Linked DNA regions of Homo sapiens: region 1 is linked to region 2. The links are contacts of gene promoters, found by promoter capture Hi-C in human tissues and cell types (Jung and others, 2019). All regions are on one chromosome and are shown on one strand. Each heading gives the region's core, a stretch centred on a gene start or on the middle of the fragment in contact. The rest is flanking DNA. Distances are from core to core; before and after follow the strand shown.

What was found. The method cuts DNA at HindIII sites, captures the fragments that hold promoters and counts their contacts. A contact is called where the count stands out against the background at its distance.
Region 1: a contact is called between a fragment that was not itself captured here and the fragment with the promoter of ANGPTL7 in region 2, in 1 of the 25 tissues and cell types used here (H1 embryonic stem cells).

What each region holds. Positions count from the first base shown.
Region 1 is chr1:11,126,142-11,132,930 of GRCh38, reverse strand. It overlaps MTOR (mechanistic target of rapamycin kinase), which reads left to right. Exons shown (of 58, transcript NM_004958.4): 39 at 2,154-2,402; 40 at 3,093-3,193; 41 at 3,980-4,076; 42 at 4,379-4,477; 43 at 4,805-4,927; 44 at 5,125-5,307; 45 at 5,787-5,921; 46 at 6,135-6,309. Among named protein-coding and RNA genes, the nearest start is that of MTOR-AS1, 14 kb to the left of the region's middle. The HindIII fragment of the contact is 4,318 bases long and covers 2,556-6,789 here.
Region 2 is chr1:11,186,442-11,193,040 of GRCh38, reverse strand. It overlaps ANGPTL7 (angiopoietin like 7), which reads right to left and starts at 3,686. Exons shown (of 5, transcript NM_021146.4): 1 at 3,086-3,686; 2 at 671-771. The coding sequence starts at 3,461. All of the region lies in intron 28 of MTOR (mechanistic target of rapamycin kinase), which reads left to right. RefSeq lists an enhancer at 2,833-3,333. The HindIII fragment of the contact is 2,807 bases long and covers 2,872-5,678 here.

The DNA.
Region 1 (6,789 bases), core at 3,465-5,964, 61 kb after region 2:
AGGGAGCCTGCATTTCCCCCTACAAGTTTAATTAATACAGAAAGATTATTGGAGAAATACTTGTTACACCATTATTATGTGTATGTGGTGTTGGGGATTGCTGCTGTCTTACAGACTCTGAGCTGCTTGTTTTCCTGGGAGCATCTGGACACATGGTTAATCTCTGGAGTGACATCTTCCCTTAGGTCATCTGTTCTTGTTCAGCGTTTTTCTGATTTGCATCCTTGCCTGCTCCTCAGCTAAGAACTTAACTTTCTTTGTTTTTATTGGAAAGATCCAAGTAACATCCTGTTATGTTACAGGAAACTTTTGAAAGAGATAAACAGAATTAGAAAATATATAAAAGATGTGATTGATGGAGGGGTGATTTTTGGAAGTGTATATCTTTGGTGAGAATATACTTTCTTATTTCTTTTTGAGAGGCTTTCTGGTAACTACTTGGTGTGGCAGATGTCATTGACATCTTTCCAGTATTTCCTTGGCTTGCCAATACTTTGTGAATTAATCTCTCTGAAATCTAAACTTGTATCTGAGGACTGCAGAAGCACTTATAATACAGATCTTACCTTTGTTTAGGCATGCTTCATTCTGGTTTGAAAAATGTCCATTTTGTCATAAGAGTAATACTCTCTCTAGGACAGCTTGCATGTCCAAAGCTGGAAAATACATCCGGTAAACACTATTAACTGGAAGCTTATTAATCAGAGTTGTATTCTAACCAGAGTTACTTTCATTCATTAAGCTTTTAGGAAGTAAGCAAATCACAAGAAAAAAGTTGGTTTCAGGAACTTTAGTTTTAGTTTTTAAAAGCTTTTCCTAATGTGGGTCCCTTTTGTTTTATGATGTATTCTACCATCAACGTCATGGCCCTGTATGCATGCCAGGACTGTTTGTCTTGTTCACCTTGACCCCAGGTCATTGCCAGGCACATAGCAGATACACAAGAGATATTCAGTGAATAAATGAAGGTATGGGAAAACTGAAACCTGGGTCATTGTAGAATTCTTACTCATCAAGTAAAGGTTAGTTGTGATCAATCTATTCTCCTTAGTTGAGAAAACGGATACACCTGTGTTCAAGGTTTTTGGCAAGGCATACAAACGAATTTCCCAATTATTCAGAAAGTTCAGCTATTAATGGGTCACGTAGTGTCCTACTATCACTGCAAAGTTACCATGCCTGGAAGCAAACTCTGCCTCACACTCGCTAAACCAAGTGGTGGTACGCTGTAGAGTCATTGCCGCTCAGAACCCCAGAGAGAGTAGTATTCCTTTATCCAAATAAGCACCAGCGGTTCTTCCTTCAAGCATTGAGCACTGGTTCTCTGTCAGGCCGTGGGCTAGGTGTTGGGACCAGGCAGATGGGTGAGATTCTTTCTCTGTCAGGCTCCTATGCTCTTCATGTCTTCCTTTGTCCACTATCTGGTGACCTGTCAAAACTTTGCTCCCTTGAAATATTGTGATGACTGCTGCTTGCCCCCACTTCTGCTTGCCATTTCTGCTCTCCCCTAAATGTACACTTTATACCCAGTGCAGCTCTGCTTTCTGGGTGAAAGTGCCAGCCCTGTGCCTGCTCCAGGCGTGCTTTGCTGGCCTCGCTCTCACTCCTCGCCTGCATGTATCCCCTGCACGGTCACATTCATGGGCTTGTTTCCCGTGAACCAATCTGCACATCTCTGGCCTTATTCTTCCCCCTTGCCAAGTAGTCCCCACCGCTGCCTTCTTGTTTCCCTCCTTGCCCTTCTGCAGCTCTCTTCCAGACCTACCCCAAATCCCTCTTCTTGACAAAGCTTTCCAAATGCCTGTCCTTGCTACTCCCATTGTGCCTTGCAGAGTACCTAGGTCTTCAGGTTTGTGCGTGAGCTCCCCTAGGAGGCCGGGAGATCCCTTGAGGCAAGAGCTCTCTCCTGCTCCTCTTGCTGTGCCCTTCTCGCAGTGCACTCATAGTACGTTATATAGTTAGTGCTCCACAAAGTGAGTGGATCATGTTGAATTTAGTAAAACAGCCATTTCTGAGTGTCTCCTTGAAGTGTTTGCTTTATGGACACACAGAACAGGCAGGAGCAGCTGTTCCTCAGCATCGACCTTGCGCTCCTCTGAGCCCTGCTGTTGGTCACAGCTCCAGTGTCTGTCCTTGCCTTTCTCCCCAACCAGGCCTGGCATGCGTGGGCAGTGATGAACTTCGAAGCTGTGCTACACTACAAACATCAGAACCAAGCCCGCGATGAGAAGAAGAAACTGCGTCATGCCAGCGGGGCCAACATCACCAACGCCACCACTGCCGCCACCACGGCCGCCACTGCCACCACCACTGCCAGCACCGAGGGCAGCAACAGTGAGAGCGAGGCCGAGAGCACCGAGAACAGCCCCACCCCATCGCCGCTGCAGAAGAAGGTCACTGAGGTACCCTTCCCTTCTTCCTTATTAACAACCAACCAAGGTGCCAGGCTCTCTGAGAAATGGAATCGTTGTTAAGCTTAAAAGGAACCTGAGGCTGTATCTGAAGTGCCAGATGGAGCTGGAAAATACTGCCTATCTACCATCCAGCACTGCCTGAGATAGGGCTTTGTGTGTGAATATTTGTGTTTGGGGAGCTGACGCAGCCTCTATGCTGAAGAGCAAGCTCCTTGTCAAGCTTCCCTGTGGACGAGCTCATTCTCTACGTGCTGCACCTGTGTGTGGGTGGCTGTACACAGCTGCGGGTCCACTCTGAGGATGGGGCTTGGGAGGTCCATCCTCTGCCTTTTTCTCTCCACTTCCACTTCTTCCCCTTCCCCTTGGGCTGTCAGTTCAGAATGCGCCAGGGCCGCTGGCAGGCCCAGAGATCCGGGTGTTCAGAGCCTCAGCTCCACCTCCTCCCTCCATCCTGTTCAGGAAGCCACTGTCAGCCCAAGATAATAACAGTTATGATACAGTTGCCATTTATTGAGTCTTTGCTATGTGCCAGGTAATGATTAAAGATTTTTCATGCATTAACCGATTTAATTGTTATAACCACCCTTTGAAGTAGGTACAGTTAGTATGCTCTTATGCCCATTTTACAGATGAGAAAGCAGAGGCAAGAGTGTCGCTAACACGTGTGTGTTCCAACAGGATCTGTCCAAAACCCTCCTGATGTACACGGTGCCTGCCGTCCAGGGCTTCTTCCGTTCCATCTCCTTGTCACGAGGCAACAACCTCCAGGATACACTCAGGTATCAGAGAAGGGAAGGATGCAACTCTGGTAGGCCATGTTAATGGCAAGACCTAGAAGTCACACGTAAAAGTCCTCTTTCCCTTCCTGACCCTGATCAGGACACCCAAGATCGATGTATGTGCCTTTTTTCTGCACTGCATTTAAGGAGTAACAGCTGACTGGGCCCCACCTGTGTGGGTGAAACCTACAGAGAGTGAGGAGGAGAAGTGGAGTGAGAACTCTCCATGTGTGGTTTATTATGGAGGGATTATTAACCCATCTGTTAATCACAATATTTCTTTTTTTCTGACCACCCTGTTGCCTATTGAAGTCACAGTATTTCTAAAATCCCTCAGCAACTTGGAGAGGTCTAAACAAATGACTCAAATCAGTTAACCCAGAGGGTAAAGGTGACAAGGTCCACATCCTCCTTCATTTGAGGATCTCCAGCCAGCTAAGAGCCAGGTGTCCCTGTTGCCTCTGCCGTACAGCGACTCTTACATGTGCAGACTTGTGGCTTTCTAAAGGTTATCCTGGCTCGTCTGTTTGATGTTTGCATACATGCCATGGTGACCCCTCGGTGACCTGGGATGAAATGCTCATTTGCTCAGGGTGACTCTTACGGTGTTCAGTCAAGAGCACTGCCACCCATCACAGACACCTGCTCCCATGGGAGGCCAAACACATTTGAGAGTTACTGGTTGGAGTCCCTGCCAGCTCTCTTCTCAGGAGCCTTAGAGATGAAAAACAGGCAGGCAAAAACTGGGAAACTAAATTTTCTGTGACTTTCTCATTTCTTTTTCAGAGTTCTCACCTTATGGTTTGATTATGGTCACTGGCCAGATGTCAATGAGGCCTTAGTGGAGGGGGTGAAAGCCATCCAGATTGATACCTGGCTACAGGTGAGGATACTTGGTTACAGGTGAAGGTGGCTCCAAGTCTCTCTTCTGTGTGTCTCCTCTTACAAGCATGCTGTGTTCAGTGTCACAAGGCAGTGTGTGTTAATACAGTGCTAAGGAAGTAGGGCTCGGTCCCAGTGTCAAGTGTCCATATTTTCTTTATTTTCTTTTAGAAACTAAAGGGAAGGGAATGAACCATTTCAGAGCATCAACCGAAACAAGTTAAAAGAATTGATCTTTGCCTAGAAGAATAACTAGTTGTTTCAAGTCTCATATGCTACATACTGTGTCTTTTTGAATACCAGGTTATACCTCAGCTCATTGCAAGAATTGATACGCCCAGACCCTTGGTGGGACGTCTCATTCACCAGCTTCTCACAGACATTGGTCGGTACCACCCCCAGGTATGTGGAGACTCTGGGCAGTTTCTCATCTAACCACTGGTTTGGTGGTCAGCCTTTCCAAAAGCTGCCCTGGCGACACAAGCGCAGGAACTGGGAGCCATGTGTTCCATCCTGGCCCAGGAGGGTCTGTCCAGCCAGCCGTCCCAGAGGGCCCGGGAGCCTTGCTAAAAAGAAAGCGTTCCCTCGAAGACTGAGCCCCTTCCTGGTAGTCTCAAGCAGATGTTAATGTCACACTCACCACTTGTTTTGTTATTCTCCTTAAAATTCATACCAGCTCTTCCCCAACCCACATTTCCTTTATAGATGTTTCTTCTGTTTTTCCCTCAGGCCCTCATCTACCCACTGACAGTGGCTTCTAAGTCTACCACGACAGCCCGGCACAATGCAGCCAACAAGATTCTGAAGAACATGTGTGAGCACAGCAACACCCTGGTCCAGCAGGCCATGATGGTGGGTCGGAGCCACTGTGGGGCTTCATAGACCCTGGTCCCTTAGCTGGTGGGCGCAAGTGGGATTGTTTTTCTTCCTCGCATTGGTGCTGTGCACTTCCTCTGACTGCTGGAAATAGTACCTCCTGTGTCTCCAAAACAGACCTTTCTGAGGTTAGCTGATTCTTGATGCTTCTCTCCTTCTTCTCTTGGCTTCAGGTGAGCGAGGAGCTGATCCGAGTGGCCATCCTCTGGCATGAGATGTGGCATGAAGGCCTGGAAGAGGCATCTCGTTTGTACTTTGGGGAAAGGAACGTGAAAGGCATGTTTGAGGTGCTGGAGCCCTTGCATGCTATGATGGAACGGGGCCCCCAGACTCTGAAGGAAACATCCTTTAATCAGGTATGGGGTAAAAAACACGAAAGGACATAACCCTGTAGAAATATTCTGCCACTAAAAAAAAATGAAATGAGAAAAGTTTTTATAGAATGAAAGGACGTGACCCAAGGCCTTTGTCAGATTTCTTTTCCTCTGGCCTTTCCACTGACTTTAATAAAACGAGCTCTGATGGAGGTCACAGAGCATAAAACATCAGAAATTAGTTACAGGGACCCTTCTGAATTTTAACTGGAAAAGCCCAAGATTTCTCAAGAGGTCATCTCGTCTCTCCTCTCACCCTTCCTTCCCTATAAGCCATGCTGCTGGTTTGGAAGCTCCAGGGTTGGAGGCCTGCACCTATGCTCTTGCTTTCTCCAGCCCCCTGCCAGTGTTTTCAGGCCACAGCGGGCTCCTGAGGAATATCTGCAGTCAGCCTGGGGATTTTGCCTCCTGGGTTGGTTGAGACTTTGATAACTTGAAAACGTGCCTGCTTTCTCTCTCAGGCCTATGGTCGAGATTTAATGGAGGCCCAAGAGTGGTGCAGGAAGTACATGAAATCAGGGAATGTCAAGGACCTCACCCAAGCCTGGGACCTCTATTATCATGTGTTCCGACGAATCTCAAAGCAGCTGCCTCAGGTAGGATCTTCAGGCTCCTGGCAGGGTTAACTGTCATTATAGTCCTTTCTGTTTTACTGTCTATGAATGTTCTAACACTCATTCCAAAGCATCTGGTTTTACTTCTGCTTTGGGACAAGTAATTGTTATTAGCAATCCACTGAAAAATACTTAAATTGCGTTTAAATTCTTCCCTGGAGGCAGAACACTAAATCCTTTGGTAATTATTTACAGCTCACATCCTTAGAGCTGCAATATGTTTCCCCAAAACTTCTGATGTGCCGGGACCTTGAATTGGCTGTGCCAGGAACATATGACCCCAACCAGCCAATCATTCGCATTCAGTCCATAGCACCGTCTTTGCAAGTCATCACATCCAAGCAGAGGCCCCGGAAATTGACACTTATGGGTAAGGACCATTGTGCACTTCTGTCACCCACTTCTCCCTCCTACACTGGCTGAGACCCCTTCCCTCTTCTGAAATTACTGCTTGCCATTCCCACTACTCACCTATCATAGCTACATCTCTCCCATGCTCATTGAGAGGAAAATAGAGGGCAAGCAAATTTCTCATTATGTCCTCAGGACTTAGTTCATTCATGTAGTTGGGCTTATGTGAAGCATGATCACACATAAAGGGAATGACAAAGGCATGCAAGGCAGAGAAGTAACAGTGGAAGGCAGGTGTTGGAGACTGATGAGGCCAGGGAGGAGGCAGCTGGGTGCAAGCAGGGAAGGTGCTAGCTCCTCTGAAACGGGGGCTTCTGGCTCTTGAAATTTTTTTCTTTTTTTTTTTACCATCATAGTCTCTGTGGTAAATGATTGTGTAAAATGAACAAGTGGATTCTCACAGTGAGATTTGTTAAGCAAGTGGGCTCTGGAATTTCCC
Region 2 (6,599 bases), core at 2,437-4,936:
ATGCCTGGGTGAAAATCCAGATAATTTGATGCTGCCTTCGTGTTTTCTTTTCTCCTCCCCCAAGGAATAGCTGTTCTAGGACATGGCAAGAGATTTAAACTAAGTTATGTGGTGGTTATAAGAATGATCTGATCTATGTTAGAAGGCTTGTTGTTTGACTGATAATGATTTGAAGGGGCCAAACAGATGCCTGGGTTTGGAGTGCAGGGCATAAACTGAGTGTTTGCATAGCTCTGTGGTGTTTGGTGTGTTTGCTTGTGTTTGAGTTTTCCTTTTTTTTTTTTTTTTTTTTAATTGAAATGGAGTCTCACTTTGTCTCCCAGATTATAGTGCAGTGGCGTGATCTCGGCTCACTGCAACCTCTGCCTCCTGAGTTCAAGCAATCCTCCTGTGTAGCAGGGATTACAGGTGCCCACCACCATGCCTGGCTAATTTTTTTGTATTTTTAGTAGAGACAGGGTTTCACCATGTTGGCCAGGCTGGTCTTAAACTCCTGACCTGAAGTGATCCACCTGCCTCGGCCTCCCATAGTGCTGGGATTACAGGTGTGAGCCACTGCGCCCAGCCGAATTTTCCTTTCTTTAAACTGTGAATGGCCCTGTTGTTGTAGTCCCCTTGAGGGGGTGAAGGACAGGTATTAGGGCATGGCCAGTGACTGTAATGACCTCACCTCCAGTTCAGGGCTGCCCAGGAAGTCATCAGGAGGAAGCTTATACACTCCAGAGATGCGGTAGTTCTTCTGGTAGAGGGAAGAGCAGTCGTAGATGGCATCTACAAGAGAACAAACCACAGGGTGAGCATTTAGACCCAGTGGCTCCATCTGAGTTGAGTGTTTAGAGACTGAGCCTTTATTTCTACCCTGGGATTCTCAGTGGTGTTAATTACCCATCAGTGTCTGCATTTGGGAGAGGTGGATATGGGGAGATCCAGAGGGGGTGTATTTTGGCTTTACTAGCGGTGGAGCAGAGGGGTAGGGAAGCCCTTCACCTGGATAGCATTAGTGGGACGTTCCAACAGGTGGTTTCAGGTTAACTCTGAAATAAATTATTCTGCTATAGCTGGGCCATGAATTCTAGAAATGTTACAGTGTATGAGGGCCACGTAACAGATACTCCTGTCAGATAGATTCAGACTTCTTAGACAGCCGCCACTATAACAAATCAGTCGTGAATATCTCATAGAGTCTGGTTTTGTTGATGTTTCCTGGTTGGTTGTTTTTGTTGTTGTTCAGAGATGGTGGCTACTGCCACCTGAGACCATAATTAAGGGAGATAGATTTTATTATCACATATTTTCCCCTTCCATCCAGCTAGCACCTCAAAACACTCAGAAGAACCTTTGAGGCCTTCCTCCCAGAAGTTTTGTTAAAACAATGAAATGAGAGCATCAGACTGGCCAGTTTTTTTACTCTAGGGCCATGGAGCTGCTACTTTATGCAGGATTTAAGCTCTGTATTCTAAATATCAAAGAGCATAGTGGAAGAGACAGCCTTTTCTGATAGGATTCAGAGACTGCGGCCCTTACTATCCAAGAGAAGCTTCCTGCCTGCTATGTCTCGGGGTGCTTTTCTTGGTGACCACTGCACTGGGACCTTAGAGAGGAGCACCAAGATGGCAGATGGGAGTTGTCTGAGGCACATAGGTTCTCTTGCAGAGCACCTTGGGAAAGGGAGGTAGAGTACGTGTGCCTTCGCCATCACTATTCTTCATTTCGTCTTAGTGGTGAAAGCACCAACTTACTGCTTCCTCTAAGGGACTACCTACTTATAGAATATAAGGGTAACTGAGCACTTGGTCATAGAGAAGAAAAATAAGGAATGATGTCCTGGGCAAGAAGAGCAAGAGACCTGGTGGGAGAGCTGCACTTGACCCCAAGAACCTCCTTGCAGGATGGTGAGAAAGCCTCCTGTTTGGATGAGCAGGAAGTGGCACGGTCAGATTCCTCTGTCTGGCCTGGTCTTCCGCATGTCTGGTTTCATCTCACAGACCAAATCAGGACTCACTTGTCTGGAAAATGGCCTGAGAATACCTTTCTAATCCCAAACTGAGGGCCCGGAAGTCCATGCTTAGAAAGTGATTGATACATGTTGGTTCAGGTAACAGAATTTTCAAGCTTGGTTTCATGTTAAAACTTTTTCTTAATTTGAGCTGAGGTTAACCATTGACTTAGTCAGTAGAAGCTGATCATGTCTTTGTTCTTCATGTAGTTTATAATGGGACCAATGGTTTTTATATCAGCAAGAAATGACATGTCTATAGGATATGCTCCTTACAACTAATATTTTCCTGATAATTTCAGAAAACCAAATTTTTATCTCTAAACCGTAAATTCATGTTGGCCCACCTGAGCTGAGCTAACCAGAAATAAAAGTTATTTTGCAAAAGAAAGATTAAATTTATCTTATTTTTGGCCTATTAAGTCTATATTTCAGCATTGCATTTAAAAAATCCTGTATTCGGAGAAATTCATTTAAGACCATGGAAAAAAATAGACGTATCACAATTGAGGAACCTTAAGGAGCCGCATCCTTCCTGAACACAAAGGGACTCTTCACATGGTTATGTGTCTCTACACTTAACTCTGAGCCAATGAGAAGAGTTACGTTTACAGAGAGAGGACACAAAATTCCATTAATGCTCATTCCTGGTAAATCTTAGGAACACCAGAGAACTGTTTCTGGCAAAACTTTGCTTCCAGAGGAACAGCTGTTACAGTTTGGTGCTTCCTTGGAATTTCTTGAGATATAGCCTGTCAGCTCTTGGTGAGGAAGTAGCAGAGCTACACCAATCAGGAAGACTTGAACCCTGCTTCTAAGACTTGCTGGGTGACTTTGGGCAAACCATGTAGTATCTCAGCACTCCAAGATGGTAGGCTGAAACACTGTGTGGATAAAAGAGACCCGTGAAGGTGTTAGGTAAACTTACATAGCATTAGAAGTCAAAGGAAATACTGCATAAGCCTTTACTAAAGGGAAAGTGTACCCACAAAAGAGGCCCCAGTAGTGGTTCTGATGACCAGGATATGTAGAAGCAGTGCTGTAGATGGGGAGGCACTCCACGCTCCCTCAGGGGACTGGTCTCCTTACCTGCGGAGGTCTGAGTGACCGTCTGTGCTGCCTGCAGCTGCATGATGTCAATTTGGTTGTTCATCTCGGAGTACTTGCTCTCAGCATCTGTGAGCCGCGACTCCATGCGCTTGCTGTTGCTCTCCAGCTCCATCACCTGCATGACCACGCTGACCCAGTCCCTCTCCTGCTTCTTGTTCAGTTCACTCAGCAGGCTGCTAAGGTTGGCAACTTGGGCCTTGAGCTCCTTCACCTCCTCACAGCAGTTGGCCGCTTTGAGCTGTGGCTGTGCTGGTGTCTTGTGCTTAGAGAGCTTCTGCAGCCACGCTGGGTGGCTGACAAAGGCCACGATGAAAATGCAGAGCCAGGTCACAGCTGAGAGAGGCTTTTTCAGCATCTTTTGTGGGTTTGGGTGAGGAAGGCTCTTCCTTCAGGGGAGTCTGGAGATGCCCAGCTGAGGTCTGCAAAGCTGCAGCAGGCTGACTGAACCTTACGCTTTCACTCTGAGGGCCTCGCCACTTTGTTGTTTTCTCTCTTTCCTTGCTCTTTGCTAGCCTTTCTCAAAGCTTGAGTCTCTGACAGGGGAGCTGAATGGGTAGCCTATAGCTTTCCTTCCAAGCCCGAATGCTCCACAAGTCAGCATCTTAAATATTGTTTGCTGCCTGTACCTCCACCCCTACCATGGCTGCACCAGGCTTTAGCCCCTCCCAGCTCATCTGGGAGGGTCAGGTGCCTGTTGGGTGAAGTCAGCGGCAACTTAGGCCAGAGGAGGGGAGGAGGGAGATGGGGCGAGTCTTTCTTTCCTTGCCTGTACAGTCTCTGGGCTAAGACAAGAGGACTGTGAATTTGTGTGTTTCCAGTTTCGCCTATTAGATTATGCCCCTGCCAGCCACTGGCTCAACTCTATCAGCAAGCAGGACAGGGTCAGAAGAATTTCCAAATTCCGTTCAAAAGGTTATATAACCATGGGGTGAGCGTAAGGTAGGCGAAAGAGACGCTACTCACCCAGGGAGGCCTGTTAATGTAATCCATGCTGTTTATATGAGGATCTGGTATATTTTGACATCCTGCTGAATATGCTTTTATCTAGGCTGATTATTCCCATCTCTGATCATTATTTAGTATTTTATAAAATCCTTACTCAACCTGGATCTAACACTATCTCACATTTGAAATCTTCCAACTTAGAAAAGTTCTAGAAATAGAAGAATAGAGTAAATCTCTTAGGAAGCCAAAAAAAGACTTTGTAGCCACAGGGTTTGGACAGTTGTCTTTTTACATGCTTTCTCCTTCAACAAAGAGAGGGCCAGTATTAGCATATAACACTTGATATTTTGCAAGGAGGTGTCAGAAGATTACAACAGAGATGAAAACTCAGCAGTGCCAAGCATGTCTGGGATTGGTCACCCATGCTTCTGTCAGTTTCTAGGCAGGACAGAGAACAGGCCCATCCTTAGCCCGTGGTTCAAAACTTGGAAAATATATTAAAATATAGAGAAAAGAATCCCTGTCACCTAATAAATCCATATCTAGAGTCTCATTTCCCTCTTTCTTTGCTGGTATGGTTTGCAATTTGAAATTATTCCTCCTCTATTTGTATATGACTTTGTATCTAAAAAACATGAATATTGTAATTTTTCATGTACTATATATGAAGGACAATGCTCTTTTGAAAAGAAATGTGAAAAACATGGAGTTTCAGCAAACATCCTTAAAATAAGCTTTTCACTAAGAATCTATACAAAGGTTCCTCTGTCCTTAAAACAGTAACTCTGTCTTTGGAACATACGATTGCTGTTTCCATGTTATGGAGCCACTCAGGCAGTTACTTGTACTGTTGTAGTCAGCGTGGGTCCTTCCCACATAAGCCTGATGCCTGACAGCTCTCCTCCCATGCCATAATCCCCCAGAGCTCTTTTCCAGTCAGGGCTTCTAGCTCCTCAGAAAGTAATTTCTGTTCAGGCAGCTGGAGTTACTGAACAATTTTTTTTTTTCTCAGAATCAAAAAGCAGTGGAGGATCAGGTGGATCAGAGTTTGTTTTCTCACATACCCAGCCTCCTTTGCCTGCTAAAGGGTGAGGATGTTACTGATACCCTTATAGCAACTTGGCATTCTAATCAAAAGATTCTGTTGAGAATTGGCACTGTCTGCCAGTCTGCTCTCTTTTTGCAAATGTCTAGCCCAGCTGGGCACCACAGCCTTAGCTCCATAGCATTCATTTTAGTAACGAGACTCTGGCCCCAAATATTGGCATCCTACAAGGTCTGCTAAAAATAGGGATTTTCAAGTGGATCTCCTGGCCATCAAATGACACTGAGCTTAAACCACATGCCACAGAAGTGCTATGTACCATACAGTCATGTATAGCAGGGGTCCCTAATCCCCAGGCTGCAGACCTGTACTTGTCCATGGCCTGTTAGGAATAGGGCCATACAGCAGGAGGTGAGTGGCAGGTGAGTGAGCATTACCGCCTGAGCTCTGCCTCCTGTCAGATCGGTGGCAGCATTAGATCCTCACAGGAGTGTGAACCCTGTTGTGAACTGCACATGTGAGGGATCTAGGTTGCGTGCTCCTTGTGAGAATCTAAGTACTGCCTGAAGATCTGAGGTGGAACAGTTTTACCTCAAAACCATCCCCCATCTCCCCACCCCCACCCTGGTCCATAGAAAAATTGTCTTCCACGAAACCAGTCCCTAGTGCCAAAAAGATTGGGGACCACTGATGTATAGCATCCCACGTGACCCTGCTGCCTTGGAACTCTCATGTAACAGTGCAGCAGAGAAAGCACAAAAGAACAGTGGAACTTTGTGGAGTTCTAGCCAGCTTTTGTTTATTCTTCCCAGTAGCTCACCCAAACAGGAAAGTGTTATGAATTGATTCTTATATGTGGGCAGAAAATAAATTAATCATTCATATTTGTACCCCATGTAACAGTCCCTTTTAGGAAAGGTAGGAGGAGGTTCGTAAGTTTGTATTGGAAGCATCTAGCCTTTAGCATGAGTGTCTGGTCTTTGACATTTATTTTCTGGAAACTTATTTCTAACATAAGGCAATACTTGAAGACAGAAGACAGAAGCTCTTGAATTGCATAAGCTACCCAAATGTCAATACTCACCCCCCCTCCAGTTTTGAGGAAAAATAGCTAATTAAGGATATTTCTCATGCCAGAAGATTATCTATTTTCTAAAACATCCACAACCTTATGATGTCCTAGATTCTGAATATCTAAATGAAGGAAAAAGAAGTCCTTGTTTTGAGCACAGCTAAGCCAGTAGAGAAAACCATGAAGGATGTGGAGGACTAAAATGGTATTGCCTTCTCTGAAAGAGGCTTTTAAATCCTTCTTCTGCCTTTCAGTGAGCAGAGTGACCTTAAAAATGGGAATTAACTGACAAAATCTGGAAAACCTAGGTTGGATACTGTTTAGATTTTCCTTTTCTCCATTTTGCTGGTGTTGAAAGAGGGCTAGCTTGGTGCTCCTGGAAAAGGTGTTTATGAAAATTAAGCTTTTGTTCTTAATGAAAAAAGTCAGTG